3 separate regions of the Homo sapiens genome follow, and regions 2 and 3 are each linked to region 1. Evidence: promoter capture Hi-C in human tissues and cell types (Jung and others, 2019). All regions are on one chromosome and are shown on one strand. Each heading gives the region's core, a stretch centred on a gene start or on the middle of the fragment in contact. The rest is flanking DNA. Distances are from core to core; before and after follow the strand shown.

Region 1 (4,448 bases), core at 735-3,234:
AATGAATATAAAGGCCTTTGGGAACAATGAATAATGCTTATTTCATTTTATTTATTTATTTATTTATTTTATTTTATTTTATTTTATTTTATTTTTTTTTTGAGACGGAGTCTCGCTCTGTCGCCCAGGCTGGAGTGCAGTGGCGCGATCTCAGCTCACTACAACCTCCCGGGTTCAAGCAATTCTCCTGCCTCAGCCTCCCGAGTAACTGGGACTACAGGCGTGCGCCACCACGCCCAGCTAATTTTTGTATTTTTAGTAGAGACGGGGTTTCACCATGTCGGCCAGGATAGTCTCCAACACCTGGCCTGAGGTGATCCACCCGCCTCTGCCTGCTAAAGTGCTGGGATCACAGGCGTGAGCCACCGCGCCTGGTTTGAGCAGATTTTAGGAGCCAGAGAATCCCCTCTGCCTCCTGGGAAAATCCCTGCTTGCTTTTGCCTATGCTCCAAGTTTACAGTTGTCCCACCCCTAGACTCAAGGAAAGGCGCTAACATAGCGGCAGGAAATGCCTAGCTGGGCAATTCTATTCCTAAGTCAGAACTCACATTATGTCTGACCGTCCACTACGCCCTCTCCTTGCCCTGAAGTTGAAATGGATAAACAGAATCCCATTGCTAAAGCGACCTTCAACGGGGAAGATCCTTGGGAGAAAGACTTTGCTACAAGTTTAAAAGCCCCAGGTAACCCTGGCCCAAATCACTACCGGTGCCTTCACTCTGCACCTTCCCCATGACCAAGGGGGCACAAGGGGGGAGGGGGGAACCTCAGGCGAGGCTCCCGGAGGAAGAGGAACACTGGAAGCAAGGGAACCCTGAGGGTGAGGAGGGGATGCCTGGCTATTCTCCTTGGGAAATTATGTCCTGACCTTTGGCATTGCTTCCTAAAGGGGTAGACTCCCGGAGTTCTTTCTCCCAAAGACTTCAGGGATATCATCCTATAAAGTCTCCTTGCGTCCCTCCAGCCTCGAGTAACATTACTCAGCCTCCGAAGGGCAACGAAAGACTGGTAGCACCCCCAAGCAAGCACATTCTCCACACTTCCTCTGCTCATCCCAAACCTCGCTCCTTCCCACCTCCCCACCAACCCCGCACCTGACCCGTGACAGACAGAACTGAAGGAGCGCAGCCCGCAGACCTGGAAGCCGGGTGCAGCCTCCAGGCACGTGCCCCCGCTCCGCCTCTGCCTAAGTCAAGTGGCCCGGGCAAAACTACTGCCAAAACAGTTGCTCTTAGGTGGGGCAGGGGACCTGCCTCCCTGCATCCACCCGGCACTAGCTCAGCACCCCCGCCCCACAAACCGTCCCCGCAGCCGCGCACGGCCCTCTCCGGCGGCGCACTCACCTGCAGCTGGGCTTGGCTGGCGTTGCCCGCGGCCGCGTCGGGCCCGTCGGCGGCTCCCGAGCCGCGCAGCACGGTGATGTGCAGCGTGAGCAGCAGCAGCCCCAGCAGCAGCAGCAGCTCGGCCGCCAGGCGCACCATCCTTTTGAGACGCGCGGCTTTAGGACCCGGCGCGGCGGCCGGCGGCGGCGGCGGTGACGCCGGGGGAGGAGGAGTAGGAGCCCGGGAGCCCGGCAGCGCGGCTCCCGCCTCGGCTCCCGCCAGGGCTCCGCTTCCCGGGCCCGCGGGGCTGGCGCTGGGCGCGGCGGGGTGTGCGGGGCCGGGGGAGCAGGAGCTGCCGGCGCCGCCGCCGCCGCCGCCGCCGCACCACGGCGGAGCCACCGCGAGGCCGGGGGTGTCCAAGCCGGCTGCGGAGCAAGCCCCGGCGCTGCCTGGCGGCGGCGGCGGCGGAGACGGAGACTGGGTCCCGGGACAGCCCGGGACCCGGGCCGGGCCGGAGGCCACCCTGCTGGCAGGGGGCTGCGGGGTCGGCGGCGGGGCGGGCGCAGCCGAGCCCCCGAGCGCACATGGGCGCCCCAGATGTGGCCGCGGCGCCGCAGCTGGAGCGGGAGCGGCCGCCAGAGAAGCGCGGGGAGGAGGAGGAGGAGAAGGAGAAGGAGGAGGAGGAGGAGGAGGAGGAGGAGGAGGAGGAGGAGGAGTAGGAGGGCTTCAGCTGCGGCCGGGAGTTACCTCCACGCTTGGCGCCCCCGCCCTCGCCGCCCCGAGCCACTCACCCGGCAAGCCACCTCCACTACTCTCCGCGCTCCTCGGGGCCGCCTGCCGCGCCGCCCCGCACTCGGAGTCCCGGGGAGGGCCGGTTCCAGATGGGGGCCCCGGGCACACCGAGGTTGTCACGGTTTGGCGGTAGCCGGGGCGCCCTCGGCGGCAGCGTCAGCCTGCCGGGCTGTACCAAGTGCCCGCTGCCGAGGTCGCTGTGACGGGCGCGGGTAGAGCCCTTGTGCACACTGAGGCTCGGGGCTGTGGGTGGGTGGGGTGGTGCCTGGGCTGCTTTAGAAACCTTTATTGGCAAACTGGAGCTGGAGTTGCAGTGATGGAAAACGGAGGGGGCGCCGGACAAGCCATGCGTCTGCCTGCGACCCCTGCCTGAAGCAGTCGGGGGAGAGGAGGAGTGCCAAAGTGTCGTTCCGAAGGGTCTTGACACTTGCTGGGCCGCCCGCTAGCCGGGCACGGCTGTTCGCGGATCCGCGGCGCCCCGTAGAGCCTGGGAAGGGAGGGGAGTCCGACTCTCTAGGCGTTCGTCTGGTCACGGGCGCAGGTGTTGGCTGGAAGCTGCAGAGACGCAGTGCCCGCGGCTCAGGCGCTCAGGAACTCGGAGTGAATCTCAGCTCTAGTGGGCTTGCCTCTGTGGGGGGCTCATCCCGGGGGTGCCGCGCCCAGAGGGGATTTGGGGGCTGGCGTCGCGCAGCTGTCGATCCCGGGCCACCGCCTCATGACCGCGCTGCAGCCTCGGGCTCCCGCGTGCGGCTCATGCCTTGCAGTGGGCGGTTGGCGAATGGAAGGGCTCTGGGATCCGGCTGAGGGCGCGGAGTCCGAGCGTCAGATGCTAGAGCGAACTGTGTCGGTCCGTGGCACCGCGCACTTCCCTCCTTGACCTTGCTCGGGCTCCCGCCTTACCGAAGTGACTCGGAGTAGCGGACGCTCAGTCCGGCCGGGACTTTTATACTGCGCTTCCCCTCCTCCTACCCGTTCCCTCCCTTCCTCCTCCCCAGCGCCGGCCCAGCCCTTCCCTCCCAGCGAGCCAAGACCTAGTCCACGCGTTCGCACACAGCCGCGTCGCACATTTCCAAGCCTTTCCCGCGTCCCGGACCCCAGTGCCTCCGGGATGGAGCCTCCGAATTCTCCCTTGGTGAATGAAATTAAATAAATAATCAACTCTTTCTTGACGGCACGCCTCCCTTTCCCCCTCCCCAATTTCCTACCTTCCTTCTCCGCGTCCTAGAAAGATTTAAGATTCTTAATTCAACTGCTTTCGAGTTCTCGCAAGGCATCTCAACCAAGTATTAACCAAATTAAGGCAAACCCTTGCGCCTTTGCGAAGGTTCCTCCGGTCACCGCGGTACTTTGCAGAATTTAAATAGCGGTAGTTAAGGTAGGGTCTGCTGGTTGGGCTTATTTGTGCCCGGGAGAGGAAGGGCTTGCTGCCTCCTTAAAGATGCCTGAAGCATCTTTAAAATTCTAACTAACTCCAGCATCTTATTAATAAATTGGCAGCTGTTTATAGAGTCTGCTATATTTTTTCCTTTTCATTATTTTTTTTTGGGTGGGGAACGGTGCGAGGGAGGAGGGGAGATGTTTGGAGGGGTGCTTGCTTTGGATTTTTAGGCAGCCGGGCCTGTCAGACATCTTATTTCTATCTCTAGGCTCTAAAATGCCAATAATTGTCACTGGAGTGCGGGTCGGGGGGAGTGGGGGGAAACGCGAAACAATAACCGTCCGTATTTCAGATGGGAGATCAAAGAGGGGATCCCAGCAGCTTTTAAATCCTGGAAGGATCCTCCTGTGTGTTTTCTAATTAGGATCACTTAAAAGGGAAAGGGCTGGAGAATCAGCGCCGAAATAGAATGTATAAATTAAGATGGCAAACTAGAATCCCACAGCCAAAGAGTTTTAAGGATTGTTCTAACCTCCAGTTGTGCCAGATTATGATACGGGCTCGCAGGAACAAATGACTTTCCTATTGCCAGAGGCAGGCTGGTCTGAATTAGGATCCAGGGGCCGCTGTGTCCTGCCCTTTCATCACACACAGTCTCCACATGTAAACCTCAGCTGCTTCTCCTCTCATCTAAAAGTAACAGTTTTGGACCCAAGGCAAAAATGACCTTTAAAAAACTCTGGAAAGAAACCTTTGCAATGAATGTAAATTCTTGTAAAATAATTTGTAAATGGAGATTTGGAGATCAAAGTCTTTGTAAAATGTTGTAAAAATTGTAAATTGAATTTTGGGGACAGATGTCTTTATAAAATGTTGAACAAATGTATGAATGAATCCTATTAAAATCCCTTCACGCTGAGAGATCCCCATTCCAGGTGAATTTATGTTCCAGTAAG
Region 2 (4,448 bases), core at 1,158-3,657, 450 kb before region 1:
AGAACACCTAGCAGGATAAAAGCCCCTCCCATCCCCCCCCCAAAAAAAAGAAAGAAAAAGAAAACAAAAACCAAGAAAACCCCTATACCTAGGAATATCATATTCAAACTTTAGAAAATCAAATATACAGGAAAAATCTTGAAAGATGCCAGAGGAAAAAACACATTTTACCCACAAAGAAGCAAAGATAAGAATTACATCTGACGTCTAAGAAACCATACAAACCAGAAGAGTAGAATAAAACATTAAAACTGCTGAGAAAAGAAACACCAACCTAAAATTCTGTACTCTGAAATTATCCTTCAAAAGTGAAGGAGAAATAGAGTGTCTTAGAAAAACAAAAATTGAGAGAACTTGTTGCTAATAGCTCAGCCTTGCAAGAAATACTAAAATAAGCTGTTTAAGCTGGGCGCGGTGACTCACGCCTATGTTCCCAGCACTTCGGGAGGCCAAGGCAGGCAGATCACCTGAGGTCAGGAGTTAAAGGCCAACCTGGCCAACATAGTGAAACCTCCATCTCTACTTAAAATACAAAAAAATTACCCAGGCATGGTGGTGCATGTCTGTAATCCCAGCTACTTGGGAGGCTGAGGCAGGAGAATCGCTTGAACCCGGGAGGCAGAGGTTGCAGTGAGCCGAGATCATGCCATTGCACCCAAGCCTGGACAACAGAGTGAGACACCATCTCAAAAAAAAAAAAAAAAAAAAAAAAGACCATTATGGATCAAAAAACAAGACACAACTACAGATAGTCCCCAATTTATGATGGTTCAACTTACAATTTTTTGACTTTACGATGATGTGAAAGTGATATGCACTCAGTAGAAACTGTACTTCAAATTCCTGTATAAACCACTCTATCTTTTGCTTTCAGTACAGTCTTCAATAAATTACATGAGATATTCCACACATTATTATAAAATAGGCTTTGTATTAGATTATTTTGCTCAACTGTAGGCTAATTTTTAAGGTAGGCTAAGCTATGAGATTTTGTAGGTTGGATGTATTAAATGCATTTTTGACTTACGATAAACTATTCTGGGTTTATCAAGACATAACCTCATCATAAGTTGAGGAACACCTGTATATGTTGTCCACAAGAAACCCATTTAGAATATAAAGACACATATAGATTAAAAGTAAAGAGATGGAAAAAGATATGCTATGCTAGCATTAATCATAAAAAATGGGAATAGGCCAGATGCAGTGGCTCACACCTGTAATCCCAGCACTTTGGGAGGCCGAGGTGGGTGGATCACACGGTCAAGAGATGGAGGCCAACATGGTGAAACCTTGCTCTACTAAAATTACAAAAATTAGCTGGGCATGGTGGCTGGACGTCTGTAGTCCCAGCTACTTGGGAGGCCGAGGCAGGAAAATCACTTGAACCCGGAAGGCGGAGGTTGCGGTGAGTCAAGATCATGCCACTGCACTCCAGCCTGGCGACAGAGCAAGACTCCATCTAAAAAAAAAAAAAAGTGGGAATAACTATATTAATTTCAGACAGAGCAGATTTCAGAGCAAGGAAAGTTATCAAAGATAAAGAGGGGTACTACACAATGATAAAAGGTGAATACACCAAGAAGACAAACCAGTCCTTAATGTGTATGAACCTAATAACAGAGCATCAAAATATGTGAGGCAAAAACTGATAGAACAGCAAGGAAATAGATGAATCCACTATTACAGTTGGAGGCTCCAACATCCCTCCATCATAAATAAACAGATTCAACAGGCAGAAAATCAATAAGGACTTAGTTGAACTGAACAGCACCATCAATGAACTGGATATAGTTGACCTCTATAGGTTAATTTATCCAACAATTGTAGATTACATATTTTTTTACAGGTTCAAATGGAGCATTCACCAAGATAAACCACATTCTGGGCCATAAAACTTACATTAAAAAATGTAAAAAAAAATAAATTATGCAATGTTTATTCTCAAACTACAATGAAATTAAAACAGAAATTAAAAAAAAACACAGAAACATAAAAATATAAAAAACACTTGAAAAAACACAGGAAAGTTCAGGCACGGTGGCTGACGCCTGTAATCCCAGCACTTTGGGAGGCCGAGGTGAGTGGATCACTTGAGGTCAGGAGTTTGAGACCAGCCTGGCCAACATGGTGAAACACCGTCTCTACTAAAAATACAAAAATTAGTCAGGCATGGTGGCATGCACCTGTAGTCTCAGCTACTCGGGAGGCTGAGGCAGGAGAATCTCTTGAACCTGGGAGGCAGAGGTTGCAGTGAGCTGAGATCATGCCACTGCACTCCACCCTGGGCAACAGAACAAGACTCTGTCTCAAAAAAGAAAAAAAAAGAAAGAAAAAGAAAAAAGAAAAAAAACGAAGGAAAATAAAAGAACACTTGAAGATTTAATAACACACTTTTAGGTCAAAGAGGAATCCTCAAGAGAAATTTTAAAATATTTTGAACTAAATTAAAATACAACTTTTTTTTTTCTTTTGAGATGGAGTCACCCAGGCTGGAGTGCAGTGGCACAATCTCAGCTCACTGCAACCTCCGCCTCCTGGGTTCAAGCGATTCTCCTGCCTCAGCCTCCCGAGTATCTGGGATTACAGGCACCTGCCACCACGTCCAGCTAATTTTTGTATTTTTAGTATAGATGGGGTTTATCCATGTTGATCAGGCTGGTCTCGAACTCCTGACCTCAGGTGATCCGCCCGCCTCGGCCTCCCAAAGTGCTAGGATTACACGCATGAGCCACCACGCTTGGCCAAAAATACAACTTATAAAAGTTTTCAGGACGCAGTGAAGGCAGTACTTGGAGGGAAATTTATATCATTAAATGAATATATTTGAAAAGAAGGATCTTAAATCAGTCATCCAAGCTTCCACTTTAGGAAACTACAAAAATAAGAGCAATTGAATCCACAGTAACCAGTAGAATAGACAGAATGTATACCTTATCTCATTTGTCTTTGAACTTGGCCATGTAATTCACTTTAAACAACGGAATGTCATCAGATATATGAGCAGAGGTTGTAAGTGTGCTTGTGTGGTTTGGCGTGGCCTCTCGTGCTTTTGCCATCTTCATAAGTGTGCCCTTAGTAGCTGCTCTTTCTAGAATGAAAGACATTTGGAGCAGTCGTAAACCGGATCTTCCATCTGGAGCCAAGCCCAGCCAACTCACAACCTGAAGCAGAACTTCCCCAGCCAGCCTGAAGACCTATGATTGAGGAAAATAAGTGTCATTACAAGCCACTGAAATCTGTTTATGTATTTAGCTTGTTATACAGCATTATTTCAACAATAGCTGGCCTCTTGTCTTTATATTCCCAGTAATGAACACGTTTTTTAGTTTTACCTCTAAAATTTACCATTGCGCAAATTTTGGTGGGAGGAAGTCCTCTCAGACCCTTCCCCTTCCCAATAGCAATATCAGTCATGTGATCTGATTCAACCAATCAGGTGCTGTCTTCTCCCAAAACCTTGAATCTGGAACAAATGATACAGACATGAGGGGACAGTTAGAATTCATTTATTTGGTGGTAGCAAGAAGTATCCAGTGGGAATGACAGCATAACCAGACTCTTCCTGGGGTAAGATTTTTATTACAATTTTGCAAGTCTAGCCTTCATTGGTTGTGGCCCATTTTCCAGCCATATCATCAATTCTGTGAGCAGCCAACTAATTTCTTTTCCAGTTCAGTTAAACACAATCCATTTCTGTTGTTTGCAATCAAGAGCCCTGACTGGTACAAACAGCTCATCTGAAATGAACATAGAAGCCTTTTACATTTATTTTGAAGGTTCTAAAAATCTCTAGAGCTAAGAGAGCTTTTTTTTCTCCCTGAAAATGATTCATCATTTCTATGAAATGATACCAACTTACATCAAGAAAGAGTGTTGGCCGGGTGCAGTGCCTCACACCTGTAATCCCAGCACTTTGGGAGGCCGAGGCTGGTGGATCATCTGAAGTTAGGTGTTCAAGACCAGCCTGGCCAACATGGTGAAACCCCATCTCTACTAAAAATACAAAAATTAGCCGGGCGTGCTGGCTGGTGCCTGTAATCCCAGCTACTTGGGAGGCTGAGGCAGGAGAATCACTTGAACCTGAGAGGCAGAGGTTGCAGTGAGCCGAGATCATGCCATTGCGCTCCAGCCTGGGCAACAAGAGCAAAACTCTGTCTTAAAAAAAAAAAAAAGAAAGAAAGAAATAGTGTTAATTAAATCCATCATTTTGGAAAAATCTTTCTTCTTTAGATCTACATTAGCATATCTTTCTAGAAGGGACAAGATCTTTTAACATAAGAAATCTGGTATGCCTTCATTTTTTTTTTTTGCCTAGAGACTATAGTTCCAGAGAGAGAGAGAGAGAGAGAGAGAGAGAGAGAGAGAGGAGAGAAACAAGATACCAAGCACAATGGCTCATGCCTGTAAGTCCAACACTTTGATGGGTCAAGGTGGGAGGAGGGCTT
Region 3 (4,448 bases), core at 497-2,996, 370 kb before region 1:
TTGTCTTGTTCCTGATCTTAGGGGAAGGCATCCAGTCTTTCACCATTAATTATAATGTTAACTCTGGACTTTTTTTTTGGCGTAATTATGGTTTGCTGGAGCCTCAATCTCCTAGGCTTCAGTGATCTCCAACCTCAGCCTCCCGAGCAGCTGGCACCACAGATGCATACCACCACACCTGGCTAAGTTTTAAATTTTTTTGTATAGATGGTGTCTCACTGTGTTGCCCAGAGTGGTCTTGAACAGCTAGGCTCAAGTGATCCTTCCACCTTGGCCTCCCTAAGTGTTGGGATTACAGGTGTGAGCCACTGCGCCTGGCCTGGCCTTTTCATTGATCCCCTTTGTCAAGTTAAGAAGTTCCCTTATCTAGTTTTCTGTTTTTCTCATGAAAGGGTGTTGGATTTTGTCAGATGCCTTTTTTCTGTGTTTTTTTTTTGATACAATCATGTTTTTTTCCCTGTATTTTATTAATACAGGGTATTACATTGATTTTCAGATATTAAACCAATCTTACTTTCCTCTTGTTTGTGATATACAGTCCTTTTTATATTTTGCTGGATTTGTTTTGCTGCTATTTCTTTGATGTTTTTTTGGTCAATATTTACAAAGTATATTGATCTGTACTTTGCTGCTGATATCTTTGTCATGTTTTAACATCAGGGTGGTATTGGCATCATACTATGTGTTGGAAAGTATTCTCTCACCTTCTAGCTTTTAGAAAATTTCATGAAGGACTGACATTAATACTTTTTTTAAGACTAATGATATTTTAATTTTTGTTTTTGTCTTTTAGGATTCTCCTTTTACAAATGCAGGAATGGGATCTAATCTAAATCTGTTAGGTGAAATTGAGTGTGATGCCAGCATAATGGATGGAAAATCCTTAAATTTTGGAGCAGTTGGAGCACTGAGTGGTATGTGGGCATTATGACCTACTATCTTTGGAAAATCATGCACGTGACCATTTCATGCCTTCTAAAGATGATTACAGTCTTTTTCACCATTTCTGCTTGGAATAGTGTTTAAAACAAATGTTCTTTTTTTATTGAATTTAAAACATACAGTCTTAGTTATAAGTAGTTTTTGGTTTGAATTTGATCATTCTCCTGTATCCCTTGAAGAGATTAAAGACATTTAAGACATGATTTAGAATATTAATTTTACAATTTGAAATACACACTATATTTTTTGTTGTAAAAAATTTCAGGTAATATAAATAAAATTTACCTTTGATCCTCCAAAAGATCTTTTCTTTCTCATTTCCTTTCCCCGTGGGGTTTAACCAGTAAAAATCCAGTGCTTTTATCTATATTTTTATGTAACAGAAACACAGTTTTATTTTGTGCCTGTATTTGTTTTCTTAAAAAATAAATGTGTTAATTATTATAAACTTTTTAGATTTAAATATAATCTTTTGGAGATTTTTTCCACATCAGTACATAAAAGATATGTCTCATGTTTTATAATTCATTTATTAAAGCAAAATATACATGAAGTATGTATTTTATGTGTACAGCTTCATGAATTTTTAGATGTAGACACCATATAAGCCACCACCTAGATCAAGACATTAAACATTTCCATGTCAAAAGGTAGAACATTTTCATAATCCTGGAAGGACCCCTTATGCTTCTCCTTGGTCCATACTTCTTGTGCTCTCTTCCCTCATGCTAACTTTGGGTGCCATAGATTAATTTGCCTGTTCCTAAAATTTACATGAGTGGGATCAGACACTTCTGTGTCTGTTTTCTTTTGCTTAATGTTATGCCTGTGAGATGGATCCATGTTTTGTGTCAGTAGTATTTTATTTTTTACCACTTAGTAGTATTTCATTGAATGGATATACCATAACTTCTGTATTTACTCTCCTCTTAATGGGCATATGAAATTTCTAGCTTTTTACTTTTTTGAGTAAAGCTTCAGTGAATATTATTTTACATGTCTTTTGGTAGACATATGTACTTCTGTTTTTTTTTTTTTTTTTTTTTTGAGATGGAGTCTCATTCTGTTACCCAGCCTGGAGTGCAGTGGTGCGGAGTCTCATTCTGTTACCCAGCCTGGAGTGCAGTGGTGCGATCTCGGCTCACTGCAACCTCTGCCTCCTGGGTTCAATTGATTCTTCTGCCTCAGCCTCCCAAGTAGCTGGGATTACAGGCACCCACCACAGTGCCTGGCTAATTTTTGCATTTTTAGTAGAAACAGGGTTTCACCATGTTGGCCAGGCTGGTCTTGAACTCCTGACCTCAAGTGATCTGCCAGCTTCAGCCTCCCAAAGTGCTGAGATTATAGGCGTGAGCCACTGTGCCTGGCCACGTATGTACTTCTTTAGGTACATATGCATATATATTTTGTTTTAATAGATACTGCCGGTTTTCAAAAGTAATTGTTGCAGTTTATACTCCTACTAGCAGTGTAGGAGCTTTTCAGTTACTCTGCATCCTTGCCAATTTTTGGTATTGTTAATTGTTTTTAAAATTCAGCCATTTTGATATGTGTGTAGTGGTATTATTGAGTGTCCCTAGTGATTTATGTGTGTAGTGGTATTCAATTTGAGTGTCCCTAGTGACTTATAAGAGCCTTTTCATATGCTTTTTGACCATTTAGATAGCCTTGTTGAGAAGTGCATATTTGCATCTTTTGCAGATTTTTATTTGATTATATCTTTTATTGATTTGTTGGAGTATTTTAAATATTTTACATACAAATCCTTTGTAAGATACATGTATTATGGATATCTTCTCCCAGTCTATGGTTTGCCTTTACAATCTCTTAATGGTGTTTTTTGATGAATAGAAGTTTCTGATTTTAATGAAGTTTAAGTTAGCAACCTTTTCTTTTGTGATTAACTCTTTGTATTTTAAGTTTTTGCCTGTTCAAAGTTATGAAGATAATCTTCATTCTTTCTGTAATTTTATTGTTTTTATCCATCATGTTTAGCTTTCTTATCAAGCTCAGATTAATTTTTGTATATGTAACATAGGGGTCAACATTTATTTATTTTTTCCTCATATGGATATCCAAATGGTCCATTGCCCTCTATTGAAAGGAAGTCTTTTCCTCACAGAATTGTGTTGGGAAATTAGGTGACTGTGTGATAATTTGTTTCTGTACCCTGTTATGGCTGCTTTCAAAAATGAGTTGGGTACTTTTTTTTCCCCCATTCTTTGAAAAGGTTTGTATATGATTGGAATAATTACTTTTTAATTGTTTGAAGGAATTCATAAATTATTTCAAATTAACGGGGTTTTCTTTGTGGGAAGTTTTAAAAAGTAGGATTCAATATTTTTAACATTTATATGATTATATTTTATTTTTCATGTGCGTTTTTCTAGGAATTTGTCTATTTCATATGAGTTGTCAAATTTATTTGCCTGAAGACATTTTAGTTAGCTTTCTTTGTTGATTTCTAGTTTAATTCCACTGTGGCCAGAGAATATACTATGTATGATACCAATCCCTTGAAGCTTTTAGAGACTTGCTGTATGGCCCAGATTATGGTGTGTTTTGGTAAATTTCCACGTGAACTTCAAAAGAATATGTATTCTGGAGTTGTTGAGTACAGTGCTCTGTGTGTGTCACTTAGGTCAATTTGGTTATTTATTTGTTCTGATCTTTTATATCCTTTCTTTTTAATTAGTTTTAATTTTAGTTTCTCTTATTATGCAGTTTTATTGGTATTTAATAAAATTTCGTGTGTTTGAAGGCCATTAGCATTTCTCTGTGTACTACCTGTTCATACCTCTTGTGTGGCTTGCGTTTTAACCCTGTTTATAAATGTCCTTAATCATATTGGAATTAAACATTTTTGTTTGTCAAACTTACTACTTTCTCTTTTGTGGCTTTTGTATTTTGTATTTCTTAAAGTCTCTCATAATTTATAAGCACAATTTACTTGTATTTTCTTCTAACATATGTATAGTTTATTTTTCATTTACCTCTTGAATGCATTTTTTTCTGAAATGACTTCAAATTGTTCCTACATAGTTAATTGAATAACAATAAGTACAGTTTGTTAAATGACAGTAATACCGTAGGCATTGTTCTACAGTGGTTTACATATTTATTTATTTATTTATTTTTGAGATGGAGTCTAGCTCTGGGTGTTGGCCGAGGTTGGAGTGCAGTGGTGCGATCTTGGCTCACTGCAACCTCTGCCTCTTGGGTTCAAGTGATTCTCCTGCCTCAGCCTCCTGAGTAACTGGGATAACAGGTGTGTGCCACCACGCCTGGCTAATTTTTATATTTTTAGTAGAGACGGGTTTCACCATGCTGGCCAAGCTGGTCTTGAACTCCTAACCTCAGGTGATCCACCCACCAGCCTCCTAAAGTGCTGAGATTACAGGCGTGAGCCACCGCATCCAGCCCAGTGGTTTACATATTTTAAATCATTTAGTTCTCACGATACCCTTATGAGGCCTATGCTTTTATCCTATGTAATACCGTTATGA

Evidence for each region. Contacts are between HindIII fragments. The study calls those that stand out against the background at their distance.
Region 2: a fragment that was not itself captured here is called in contact with the fragment with the promoter of ISM1 in region 1 in 1 of the 25 tissues and cell types used here (dorsolateral prefrontal cortex).
Region 3: a contact is called between a fragment that was not itself captured here and the fragment with the promoter of ISM1 in region 1, in 1 of the 25 tissues and cell types used here (small bowel).

Annotation. Positions count from the first base shown.
Region 1 is chr20:13,218,810-13,223,257 of GRCh38, reverse strand. ISM1 (isthmin 1) reads right to left here and starts at 1,984. Exons shown (of 6, transcript NM_080826.2): 1 at 1,344-1,984. The coding sequence starts at 1,481. It also overlaps a transcript of TASP1 not described here. RefSeq lists silencers at 1,553-1,622, 2,082-2,201. The HindIII fragment of the contact is 10,397 bases long and covers 1-4,448 here.
Region 2 is chr20:13,664,884-13,669,331 of GRCh38, reverse strand. No RefSeq gene overlaps it. Among named protein-coding and RNA genes, the nearest start is that of TASP1, 28 kb to the right of the region's middle. The HindIII fragment of the contact is 7,451 bases long and covers 1-4,448 here.
Region 3 is chr20:13,583,716-13,588,163 of GRCh38, reverse strand. TASP1 (taspase 1) reads left to right here. Exons shown (of 14, transcript NM_017714.3): 5 at 794-914. Among named protein-coding and RNA genes, the nearest start is that of TASP1, 53 kb to the left of the region's middle. The HindIII fragment of the contact is 5,249 bases long and covers 1-4,370 here.